Linked DNA regions of Homo sapiens: regions 2 and 3 are each linked to region 1. Evidence: promoter capture Hi-C in 16 types of primary human blood cells and fetal thymus (Javierre and others, 2016). All regions are on one chromosome and are shown on one strand. The core of a region is centred on a gene start or on the middle of the fragment in contact, and the rest is flanking DNA. Distances in the headings are between cores, read along the strand shown. Region 1 holds the start of RSAD1 (radical S-adenosyl methionine domain containing 1). Region 2 has its middle 18 kb from the start of MIR8059. Region 3 overlaps COL1A1 (collagen type I alpha 1 chain).

What was found. The method cuts DNA at HindIII sites, captures the fragments that hold promoters and counts their contacts. A CHiCAGO score of 5 or more calls a contact.
Region 2: a contact is called between a fragment that was not itself captured here and the fragment with the promoter of RSAD1 in region 1, in 1 of 17 cell types (erythroblasts). The highest score is 5.8, in erythroblasts.
Region 3: a contact is called between a fragment that was not itself captured here and the fragment with the promoter of RSAD1 in region 1, in 2 of 17 cell types (M0 macrophages and megakaryocytes). The highest score is 7.6, in M0 macrophages.

What each region holds. Positions count from the first base shown.
Region 1 is chr17:50,477,318-50,482,071 of GRCh38, forward strand. RSAD1 (radical S-adenosyl methionine domain containing 1) reads left to right here and starts at 1,543. Exons shown (of 9, transcript NM_018346.3): 1 at 1,543-1,702; 2 at 2,312-2,445; 3 at 2,563-2,767. The coding sequence starts at 1,568. RefSeq lists silencers at 1,309-1,798, 2,370-2,756. The HindIII fragment of the contact is 15,448 bases long and covers 1-4,754 here.
Region 2 is chr17:50,783,995-50,788,748 of GRCh38, forward strand. No RefSeq gene overlaps it. Among named protein-coding and RNA genes, the nearest start is that of MIR8059, 18 kb to the left of the region's middle. The HindIII fragment of the contact is 3,784 bases long and covers 236-4,019 here.
Region 3 is chr17:50,194,309-50,196,808 of GRCh38, forward strand. COL1A1 (collagen type I alpha 1 chain) reads right to left here. Exons shown (of 51, transcript NM_000088.4): 12 at 2,309-2,362; 13 at 2,176-2,220; 14 at 2,006-2,059; 15 at 1,847-1,891; 16 at 1,615-1,668; 17 at 1,259-1,357; 18 at 1,126-1,170; 19 at 924-1,022; 20 at 739-792; 21 at 413-520; 22 at 265-318; 23 at 41-139. Among named protein-coding and RNA genes, the nearest start is that of COL1A1, 6.1 kb to the right of the region's middle. RefSeq lists an enhancer at 2,033-2,500. The HindIII fragment of the contact is 9,239 bases long and covers 1-2,500 here.

The DNA of each region.
Region 1 (4,754 bases), core at 293-2,792:
TTCTCCTGCCTCAGCCTCCCGGGTAGCTGGGACTACTGGCACGCACCACCACACCTGGCTAGTTTTTTGTATTTTTAGTAAAAACGGGGTTTCACCGTGTTAGCCAGGATGGTCTCAATCTCCTGACCTTATGATCCGCCCGCATCGGCCTCCCAAAGTGCTGGGATTACAGGAGTAAGCCACCGCGCCCGGCTTCTGCCCTGGGCTTTATACCCTGGGGCCATGTGACATGTTGGGCTGAAGTGTTGAAGGACATGCTTTTTCTAGGGGGACTGGAACAGAGCATGGCTGTGCTGGCCAGTCCTTCCTTCCCTCAGGATGTTGCATTCTCTGCACACTCTACAGTTTTATTTATTTATTTATTGAGACAGTCTTGCTCCATCACCCAGGCTGGAGTGCAGTGGCACTGTCTCAGCTCACTGCAACCTCCGCCTCCCAGGTTCGAGGGATTCTCCCTGCTCAGCCTCCCGTGTAGCTGGGATTACAGGTGCCCACCACCACGCTTGGATAATTTTTGTATTTTTGGTAAAGACGGGGTTTCAGCATGTTGGCTAGGCTGGTCTTGAACTTCTGATCTCAAGTGATCTGCCCGCCTCGGCCTCCCAAAGTGCTGGGATTACAGGCGTCTACAGTTATTCTTGAGAACTACAAGCAAGAAAGGAGGGGAGAACCAGGTCAGTTCAAGGCCACTGGGAGAACTGTCCTGCACCGCCTGCCTCTGAAGCCCATGATGTTTCTGCTTTGTGGGACAGTTGTTCAGGTGCCTGCTTCCCCAGGCCTTCCCCTGCGCCTTCCCCCTCTCTCCTACACACACCATCTGACTGTCCTTCCAGCACGTACACCTCCAGATGCTTGGGTTGGCCTGACCCAAAACAGTCTACTCTCCCGGCCAAGCCAATTGCCCCTGGGATTTTCTGCTCCTCCAAGATCCCGTGCATAGCCCTGGTGGTGGCTCATGCCCTTAATCCTTAGTTACTCTAGATGCTGAGGCAGGAGGATCGCTTGAGGCCGAGGAGTTCAAGACCTCCCCTCTCCCAAATATTTGTAAATGAAATTAAAAGAAAGATCCAGCCCAAGTGTCTCTTCTGCCCTACTGACTCCCACACTCTTAAAACAGATGACCTCACAGCACTGAGGCGGACGGCTCTGGTGTCCAGCAGGCACGGAATTAATACGCCTTGCCTGTCCTGGCCGGTTGGCTTGCCTCTCTCCTGCCAGAATGCAACCTGGCTTTATGCACCTAGATGTCCCCAGCGCCCAGTTCTGAGCCAGGCACATCAAATGTCAAGGAATTGACTGAACAAACTAAGAGCTCCTGGATGGGTCCGGGAACTCGCCCGGGCACAAGGTGCCAAAAGGCAAGCAGCCCGCCTCGCGGCCTGGGGAAAGAACCGACAGGAGGCCGCAGTGAGCGCCCGGGCGCCCGGCAGGTGGCGCCGCAGCCCCGGGCCCGGGCCCTCTTGTCGCGCGGTCACGCAGCCCCTCTTCCTTCCGCCGGCTGCGCACTCACAGTGATCCCTGCGCGCGTCTCCTGCTCGGGTCAGTGCGCCGCGCTGCGCTGGGCGCCATGGCGCTCCCCGGAGCCCGGGCTCGCGGCTGGGCGGCAGCAGCCAGAGCGGCCCAGAGGCGCCGCCGCGTGGAGAACGCAGGAGGGTCCCCGAGTCCTGAGCCTGCGGGCCGGCGCGCGGCGCTTTACGTACACGTGAGTAGGGGCGGGGGCGGAGCCCACGGTGTGTGGCCGCAGCCCTGGCCGTGACCGTGGCCGTCCAAAACCCAGGTGGCGGTTTGTCACTCTATGAACCCGCCTGCCGTGTTTCCGTGCCCCCGTACGAGGTCTGGGATGGGACCCTGTGCTTTGGCAGGGAAATGACTTGGTCCAGAAACCTGAAGTCTCTGCTACTCACCGGCTCGGTGACTCTGACCAAATGGTTCAAATTTCATAACAATTTTCCTCTTAGCAAGACAAAATTTTCTTAAGAGCAGTGTTCTGACTCGGTAGCTGGGAAAATGGCTCATAGGAAAATTGTATGAAAATTATATGATCCCAGAAAGAGCTTGGGTTGAATTCCTTCCTGACGTCTGCTGGTTGGAAGAGGCAGCGTAACAAAGGAGTGAGCCTCAGTTTTCTCACATTGAAGTGGATGTAATAACCCCAGTGCGACCTGCCTTGGGGAGTTGTGTGGCTTAGATGTCCTAGCTACTGTGGAAAGACCTCGGGATAGGGGTGGGGGTGGGGTTGGGGGTGTGTGCGACTGAACCCTGGAAGTGGCCAGGGCAGCTCTCACCGCGCACGTGCACTCACTGCCCCCAGTGGCCTTACTGCGAGAAGCGCTGCAGTTACTGCAACTTCAACAAGTACATCCCTCGCCGCCTGGAGGAGGCTGCCATGCAGAAGTGTCTGGTGACCGAAGCTCAGACGCTGCTGCGGCTCAGCGGGGTGCAACGGTGGGTAGTGGGGGCTGTAGGCAGCGTTTTGGGAAATATTTGGAGGAGTGGTGGGGGATAGGTGCAGGCATCCCAGAGGGCTCCCCCAGGTCTCATTTCTCCATTCTCTTTCCCCAGGGTGGAGTCTGTGTTCTTTGGTGGGGGGACCCCCAGTCTAGCCAGTCCCCACACGGTGGCTGCTGTCCTGGAGGCTGTGGCACAGGCAGCCCACCTGCCTGCAGACTTGGAAGTCACATTGGAGGCTAATCCTACTTCAGCTCCGGGCTCCAGACTGGCAGAGTTCGGGGCAGCAGGGGTTAACAGGTTGTCTATAGGCCTCCAGGTAACCCATGGCACTCACCCCATCCCAGTGCACCCCGCCCTTCAGTGCCATCTCCTCTTTGGTCACATTCATTCATTGGGCAAACATTGATTGAGCACCTTCTGGGTGCCAGGGACACAGTAGGGCCTAGTGCGACACTTTTATAACTCCTTAATTGTCTGCTGCTGTCATAGACCACAGACTTTATGAGAAAGGGATCAGGTGTGGCTTTTCTATTTCAAACACTTACCATAGTGCCTGGCACATAGTAGGTGGTCAAAAAAGATTTGCTACATGACACGGGAGACGCAGACATGTAGCCAGATTATTGCAGCATGGTAAATGTCACCTGTAAAGGGGGTCTCTATAAAAGGCTTCTAGAGTACAGCCTGAAGGGAGGTCACTCTGATGAAATCACTGAAACTTCTCTGGAGGAGATGTTTGAATGAAGAGGAAGAGTTCACCAGGTGAGGGGGTGTGGGGGAAACGACACAGGCCATGGAAGAGCCTGGCATGTTTTGGGGGAGTTGTGAGTCATTCCTTGTGATTGGAGAGGCTGGAAACAAGGTTGCAAGGTAGAGTCCAAAACCTTTGGTGCCTACTAAGGAGTGTGGGTTTTGTCCTAGTAATGATAGGGAGCCATTGAAGGTTTTTAAGTAGGGAGAAACCTAGTCGTCTCAGGTTGACCTCCGATATTTCCGTAGGACTTCCGGGTTGTGGGCTTTGTTCTGATGGAATATGCTGACAGAAACACATCACTTCTAAGATATTCTTACCCCAAAGCGCATATCTTGAATCTAATTGTCAGGAAACCCTGAATTAAGAGATTTTTACAAAATTATTGTGGTAAGAACAGACAGCATGAGATCTACCGTCTTAACAAGTTTTTAAATGTACATACAGCACTGTTAACTATAAGCACAGTGTTATACAGCCAATCTGTAGAAATTATTCATTTTAAATAATTCATTTAAATAATTATAATTCGTAAATAATAATAATTTATTTAAATTCATTAAATTATTCATTTTAAACAACTGGCCTGTATTCTTCAAAAATGCCAGTGTCATGAGAGACAAAGAAAGGCTGAGAATCTAAAGGAGACAGAAGAGACAGCTGAATACAATGTGTGGCCCCTGACTGGGGAGGAAGGAGGAAATTACTACAGTAGATGTTATTGGGACCATTAGCCAAATTTGAATATGACAATGTATTATGTAATGGTGTTGTGTCAGTGTTGCATTTCCTGAACTCTGTAATTGGATTGCAGTTATGTAAGAGAATGTCCTTGTTCTTTAGGAAATACACACCTAAGTATTTAGAGGTTAGGGAGTATAATATCTATAACTGCTATTCAATATAGTGGCCACTAGCCACAGACTAGTGAGCATTTGAAATGTGGTAAGTTAAGTTTAATTCACTTAAATTTAAATAACCACATGTGGCTACTACCTATCATATTGGACAGTACAGATATGAACATTTCCACCATTGTAGAAAGTTCTTTTGGACAGTGCTGGTTTATAATTTACTGTTAAATGATTCAGCATAATAACAGGTATGTATGTTTAAAGAGAAACAAATATGGACAAATGGTGAATCAAGATGAAGGTTTTTTTTGTGATTTTCTTTCAACTTTTCTATAGGTTAGAATTATTTAAAATTGAAAAGTAAAGTAAATAAAGACTTGATTTTGGAGTCAGACAGTCCTAAATTCCAGGTCGAACTTTGCAACTGTATGGCCTGGACAAGTTACTTAACACCTCTGAACCTCAGTTTTCTCATCTGTAAAATAGAACTAATATTGGAGGGTTACAAAGATTAAATTAGACACTACATAAAGGTGCTTGGCACATAGCGACCCTTCTGTGAATGGCAGCTCTTGGTGCCAGCTTGACCTTCCCCCTCCTGCCTTCCAGCTGCCTGCCACGTGCTGCGTTCTCCCTGTATCTGTGTCTACAATGGGGAGGAGGGTTCTTGTCTCTCTCTGAGCTGCTGGTATGCTTAC
Region 2 (4,754 bases), core at 878-3,377, 310 kb after region 1:
CTGTCCAAAAAGAAAAAGAAAAAGAAAAGAAAAGAAAAAAGAAAAATAAATAATATATAGTGTTCAGCAATGTGCCTGGTATACAGTAGGTGCCTAATAAAAGCAAGTCACTTTACAAGAGTTCAAAGTCCGTCCCTCCACAACTCTCCCTAAAGCTCTCCAGGCCTGTCTGTTTTCTTAGGTAATGGGTTGGCACCCAGGTTACATGGGGGTGAGATCTCCTTGTAGGGGCACAAGCTTCATGGGTTACAAAGTCAGAAGTGTGAATGTTTCTATTTTCTATAATTGACTTGGATTTCCACCTCCATTTCCCATGTTGCACGATGTGGAAACATTTTTATTACAGAATTCAGGGTTTCCTCAGTCAATTCTTTTTTTTCTGCGACGGAGTCTTGCTCTGTCACCCAGGCTGGAATGCAGTGGTGCGATCTCTGCTCACTGCAACCTCTGCCTCCTGGGATCAAGTGATTCTCCTGCCTCAGCCTCCCGAGTAGCTGGGATTACAGGCATGTGTCACCATACCTGGCTAATTTTTGTATTCTTAGTAGAGACATGGTTTCACCATGTTGGCCAGGCTCGATTCCAACTCTTGACCTTGTGATCCACCCGCCTTGGCCTCCCAAAGTGCTGGGACTACAGGTGTGAGCTACCACGCCTGGCCTCTTCAGTCAATTCTAAGTTTTTGCCTCCCCCTTTGCCCTGGGGTCCCAGCTAATGGTGTCAGCAGGGAGAGGGCTCTGATCTTGGTCGTTCTCGTTTTCTCTGCTGGTATCTGTAAAGATGGTCTCTGGCCCTATCGGGCATCATTTGCTGATTTCCGTTCTCACTGGATTCATTACTGCCCGTGTCCATCCCATCAGCATTCACCATGAGGGCCCGCGGCCCACCTGGCCTCCTTGTTATACCATCCTGATCCTGAGCTTCATGTGGTCCCAGAACCCTCTCTCAGCCACTTCAATGGGAAACTGTGGGGAGGGGTTTGTCTCAGGCCCTCTCTGCCCAGACAAGCCACAGCAGCATGTCTCCTTACGTGTAGAGACATGAGGGTGTTCTGGGAGATGGTACCTCAGTGCCTTCACCAGGAAGTGCCTTCACCACTGCGCCCCTCTACTCCCTGAGCTCTGCAGTGCCCCTACTGCAGCCCAGACAACAGGGCTGGAGTGGGGAGGAGAGAGCCATCGTGTGATCAGTGTTTTTACTGAGGCAAGGACCTCAACTTTGAAGCTAGTATCCAAGACCTAGCTCCACTGGCTTCTCTTCATTTCTTCTGAAACATTCCTGCCCCAAGGACATCCTTGCTGCCACCTGCATTGGGGCGGGGCGGTATGACATGCTAGAGAAAGAAGCCTGGTTAACATTTCCTAATCTAGCTTGGCACATCTTTTGCCCTGTTTTCAGGGTACTCCTAGTACAGACTGACACATGCCCGCCCCATAGCACCCTAGGGAAGTTTATGCTCCCAGTAATGAGTAGGGCAGAGCCAAGGTGGTGGATGAGGTTTTCTGAGGGTTGGTACTCAGCCCCTTCTGGGAGGGGAGACGATCCTGGTTGTAAACAATAGAAAACAACCCTGGTTAACTATAGCCCAAAAATAATTTTCTGGAATGATGATGGATGGTTCATAGAGTCACAGGGTAAACTGGAACCAGCCTGACAAATTGGGCAGGAACCCAGAAGGCTGGGAGGCAGAATCACAGGGAGGGTCTTATGAGGACAATCATGCCAACCTCACAACCATCACTGCCCTTTGATGGTGGCAGCTGGGACCCCAACATTAGAGGAGTGACACCTCAATGGTCCCAGCTTCTCAATAACCCTCAGTCAGTGTCAAAGTCCTAGGCAGGATGAACCAAGGCTGAGTTCCCAAGCACCCCCTGCAGGAATTGGATCTTTGGCCCCCTTAGGCTTCCATAGGGGGAACACTGCCTCCAGCCCATCTTGAGATTTGTATCCTCCCCTCTCGATTGGTATTTGGATGACAAGCAACTAAAATCAGCAAATGCACACATCTCTCTAATTTCCCTGAATGTGCATTTGCCAAGAGGCAGTTTCAAACCTGCCTCATTTGAGCAGTCTACTCAGAGTGCTGTTTGTTTATGCCACTCGGAGAGCTTGCCAAATACAGTGAAGTCATCTGAACAGCCTGAGCGCTTCCAGATAAATACATTGGCCTCCTTTCCATGGCCCCCATAGTAGCTAACATGTACTGAACAGTGGGCCAGGCACTGAGCTCAGCGCTCTACCTGGAGGATTGCCTTGGGCCTTACTGCCATTTTTCCAAGGAAGAGACTGAGGCCCAGTGGTTTACTAGCTTTCCCCAGTTCACACAGGTCTAGATGGGAATAACAGGGACTTGACCCCACACAGCCTGTCGGGCCCTGCTCCCTGGTGATCTAATGGAGCAGACGTTAAACCAATAACCACAGGATTACGTACGTGATTAAAAGGAGCACTGGAAAGGGAAAGAACAGGGTAGGAGGAGGGAGGATGGCAGAGAAGACAATTCATAGGGGTGGGGTGGGTGGGGGTCCCGGGAAGGCCTCTGGAAGAACATTTAAGCTGTGACCCAAATGATGGATTTAGCCAGGCCAAGAGCGAGGGGAAAGAGGCAGTGGCAAGTACCGAGACCTCTGAGGCAGGAGAGAGGGGAATGTGTTCGGGGGATGAAAACAAGGGCCAATGCAGCGGGAGCAGAGGGAGCTGGGGATTTCTGGGTGGGGCCATCAGGCAGGGCCAGGCTGAGCCTTGGTGTTCTTCAGCTCAGAACCCCTCACCTCCTCTCACTGACCCCCACCCCATCCTCTGAGATCCGACCTCACAGCATAGTCAGATCCAACCTCTTCTCCCCACCTCCGCTGCGGCCACCCTAGTCTGATTATTGCAATATCCCCTCCCATTCCCACTGGTCTCCCTGCTTCTGCACCGCCCCCATATCTCTTCTTTCTCAGCAATAAAGTGATCCTTTTAGCATGGAAGTCAGAGCTTGCCAGGCCTCTGCTTCTCATTTTGCTTAGAGTAAGTGCCTAAGTCTTGCAATGGTCTACAAAGCCCTCCACAGTCTGGATCCCAGGAGCTCCTGCAACGTGGTCCCCTCTCTCACTTGGCTGTAGCCCCACTGGCCCTGTGCTCCTTCTCAAGTACACCAGGCAAGCCCCTATCTGGAAGGAGGGCCTTTGCACTGCCCGTTCCCTTGGCCCGGAATGTTCTTTCCTCACATATCCATGGGTCTCTCATCCTTCAGCAGGCCTGCCCGGGCATGTTCTCATAGTGGAGCTCAGGGCAAGAACAGATGGAGATGCTAAGCCCTCTTCTGCCTGCCTCCGGTCTGCTAACATCCTGCTGGCCACAGCAAGCACGTGGCTGAGCCCAGAGTCTGAGTGGGAGGGCACCAGGATGGTAGATGCACACGGTAAAGACACAGGGAGTAAAGCACTGGGGCCCTTGCACACATGATTACAGCCCCTTGATCTGAGCTCCAAATCCCAGGCCTCCTCCTGCACAGCGACCTGCCACCATCAGTAACTCTCTCCACCAGCCACCATCCCATTTTCATTCAGCAAACATTTGTGGAGCACCTGCAGTGTGCAGGCCCTGTTCTAGACACTGTGAGGCAGCTGCACATAAAGTAGACGAAGGCCCTGCCCTTTTAAAGTTTTGTTTTGTTTTTTTTTCTTTTTTTTTTTTTTCGAGACAGAGTCTCTCTCTGTCGTCCAGGCTGGAGTGCAGTGGTGCGACCTCGGCTCACTGCAATCTCTGCCTGTTGGGTTCAAGTGATTCTCCCATCTACTCGGGAGGCTGAGGTAGGAGAATCACATGAACCCCGGAGGCAGAGGTTGCAGTGAGCCGAGATCGCGCCACTGCACTCCAGCCTGGGCAACAAGAGTGAAACTGCATCTCAAAGAAAAAAAAAAAAGAAAAAGAAATCCTATGTGTAGGGACAATGGGGAGGCAAGTGGTCAATATCTAGTGCTATGTGAATCTCAGCAACAAGGAAGTGGGTCAGAAAGCAGCCAAATTAAAGCTTAATTATAACTCTATTTCTGTCCAGAACCTGACATGTGATTCTTGTTAACCCTGTGGGGATAGTTTCAGTGGCTGGAACAGAGTGAGCAAAGAAGAGAGAGGACTGTTAGTGGGTCGCAGGCAGGGAGGTGAGGCAATCTGAATGATATTTCCAATAGGCCACTCCATGTGCAGACAGAACCTGGGTTGGAGAAGAGGAAGAAGGGAAGTGGGGAGTCCCCTTAGGAGGGTATTGCCATCGTCAAGGTGAGAGTTCGTGGTCGCCATGGTGGTCAGATTCAGGATGTACATTGAAGGGGGCCCAAATAGGATTCGCCAGTGCATTGGAGGAAAGGGAGGTAGGAGTCAAGAATGACTGACACTATTTTTTTTTTTGAAATGGAGTCTCACTCTGTCACGCAGGCTGGAGTGCAGTGGTGCAATCTTGGCTCACTACGTCCTCCTCCTCCTCCTGGGTTCAAGTGGTTCTCCTGCTTCAGCCTCACAAGTAACTGGGATTACAGGTGCGCGCCACCACGCCTGGCTAATTTTTGTGTGTTTTAGTAGAGAGGGGGTTTCACCATGTTGGCCAGGCTGGTCTTAAACTCCTGACCTCAGGTGATCCGCCCGCCTTGGCCTCCCAAGGTGCTGAGATTATAGGCATGAGCCACCGCGCCCGGCCAAGGATGACTGACATTTTGAATTTGAACAAGTGGGTAAATGGAGTTACTGTCTACTGAGATGGGGAGTGC
Region 3 (2,500 bases), core at 1-2,500, 280 kb before region 1:
CAGGGCCTGGCCAAGCCAGGCTGAAAGCCTGGGGCCTCACCTTGGCACCAGGCAGACCAGCTTCACCGGGACGACCAGCTTCACCAGGAGATCCTTTGGGGCCAGCAGGGCCAGGAGAACCACGTTCACCAGCGGGACCCTGGTTGGGGGAAGTCACAGGAACAGTTAGGGTCTCAAGTTTGTGGCTCTTTGCCACGGGCCAAAAGAGGAAGAAGATGCCCAGGGAGCGGCAGGGTCAGCCCCCCGGCCGCAAGGAGAGGTTACCTTGGGACCAGCAACACCATCTGCGCCAGGGAAACCACGGCTACCAGGTCCACCCTGCAGGAGGAGAGGAGGCCAGTGAACTCCGCGACACACAGGCACCAGCCAGGCAATGAGGGTGGAGCGGGAGGGGGCGGGCAGGGACACTTACACGCTCGCCAGGGGGTCCGGGCAGGCCAGTGGGTCCGGGTTCACCTCGAGCTCCTCGCTTTCCTTCCTCTCCAGCAGGGCCAGGGGGTCCTTGAACACCAACAGGGCCCTGGAGAGGGCCGAGAGGAGGAGGCGGCCTGTGGTGAGGGGCCATCCTGTGCCAGCCTCAGAGCCGGCTGAGGCTGGGCCTCCAGTGTCAGGGGTTCCTGGGGGTGTGGCAGGGACTCCCCCAGAAGACTAGGGGCTCCTCTTCCTTTCTGGATTTCCCTCAGGGGGCTCCTAGGGCAGGGTGGGCTGGGCTGCAAGAAGGATGGCGGGGAGACTTACAGGCTCTCCCTTAGCACCAGTGTCTCCTTTGCTGCCAGGAGCACCAGGTTCACCCTGCAAGGGGGGAGAAGAGGATGAGCTGAGAGTCGGGGGCGCTCAGTTGGCCTGCGTCTTCCTGCTCCCCAGATGAGAGCCGCACTGGAGCCAGTGCATGGGGTGGGCAGAAGGGAGAGTTTGGTACTCACGCTGTTACCCTTGGGACCAGGAGGGCCGCCGGGGCCCTGGGGTCCAGAGGGGCCTCGGGCACCAGGGAAGCCAGGAGCACCAGCAATACCAGGAGCACCCTGTGGGAGGCAGACAGCCAGGGCGTGAGCCTAGGAGCAGAGGGAAAGGGGCAGGCAGGCTGCAGGCGGCAGGAGTGGGACTGAAGCCTGGCAGGATACTTACATTGGCACCTTTAGCACCAGGCTGTCCATCAGCACCAGGGTTTCCCTGTGGCACAGAGAAAGGAGTGTCAGCAACAGGCAAGGACTCTGAGGTTAGAAAGTGGCAAAGGGGACACTGAGTCGGGGACACTTACAGCAGGGCCAGCAGCACCAGCAGGGCCAGGGGGGCCAGGCTCACCACGCACACCCTGGGGACCTTCAGAGCCTCGGGGCCCTTGGGGACCAGCTTCACCCTGAATCAGAAGAAAGGACATATCAGAAGCCACCCTGGGAAACCCAACCTTGCCTCTCGGGATGGCAGGAGGAAGGGGAGACAGGGACAGGAGAGCAATGATCAGGACTCTAAGATCAGAGACGGAGAACCCAGGACAAAGGTGTTAGTGAACGGGCTGCTCTCTTGCCACTCTGGGTCCCTTTGGTTTGGGGAACAGGGAGACATGAACCCCTTGGCCCATGAGGGTCATGCTTAGAGGAGAGTGGGGGGTCTCACCTTAGCACCAACAGCACCAGGGAAGCCAGGAGGACCAGCGGGGCCGGTGGGACCCTGTGAATGAAATGGAGATGTCAGCGAGAAGGAAGAGATGGCAGCTGCAAGTCACACCCTGGGACAGAGGAAGTCCTGGGGTTCAGACCAACATAACCTGCTCCCATTGTCAGCCCCAAGAGCAGATACTGAGACCCCTCCCCACTCCCAGGCCCTGAGGCCTACAGGCCACACTCACAGGGGGCCCGGCAGCACCAGTAGCACCATCATTTCCACGAGCACCCTGCAGGAGAGAGGGGAAGCCCCGTTAAGTCCACTGAGCACTGGCCAGTCCCTAGAGTTCCTGGGGAGCCCCTTCCAGAGCTCAGGGATCCCCCAAGGGGCCAGGAGTACTTACAGCAGGGCCAGGGGCTCCAGGGCGACCTCTCTCACCAGGCAGGCCACGGGGGCCCTGACAACCAAACCAAGAGAAGTCAGATGAGATGGGAGACAGCCTTGTTCCCCCAGGCCTCCATCTTGCCCCTGCCTCCTGCCCCATCCCTGCCCTCTGGAACTGGGCACACTCACCATCTGACCAGGAGCTCCATTTTCACCAGGGCTGCCAGGCTCACCCTGTAGATCAGAGAATAATGAGTGAGAAATTCATTCATGGTGGGACTCTGGGGATGTGGAGGACCATGATGTTCAGACAGCCTCTTACCTTAGGACCAGCAGGACCAGCATCTCCCTTGGCACCATCCAAACCACTGAAACCCTAAAGCAGGAAAGAGGTAGAAGGTAAGAACCTGTGGAGGGGGTGGAACAGCCTTGACATCCACCTAGATCTGAGAAAGAGCCTTGGGAGGTCATCACCGCCATCCCTTTGTTTCTGAGCTAGACTAAACCCCAACTG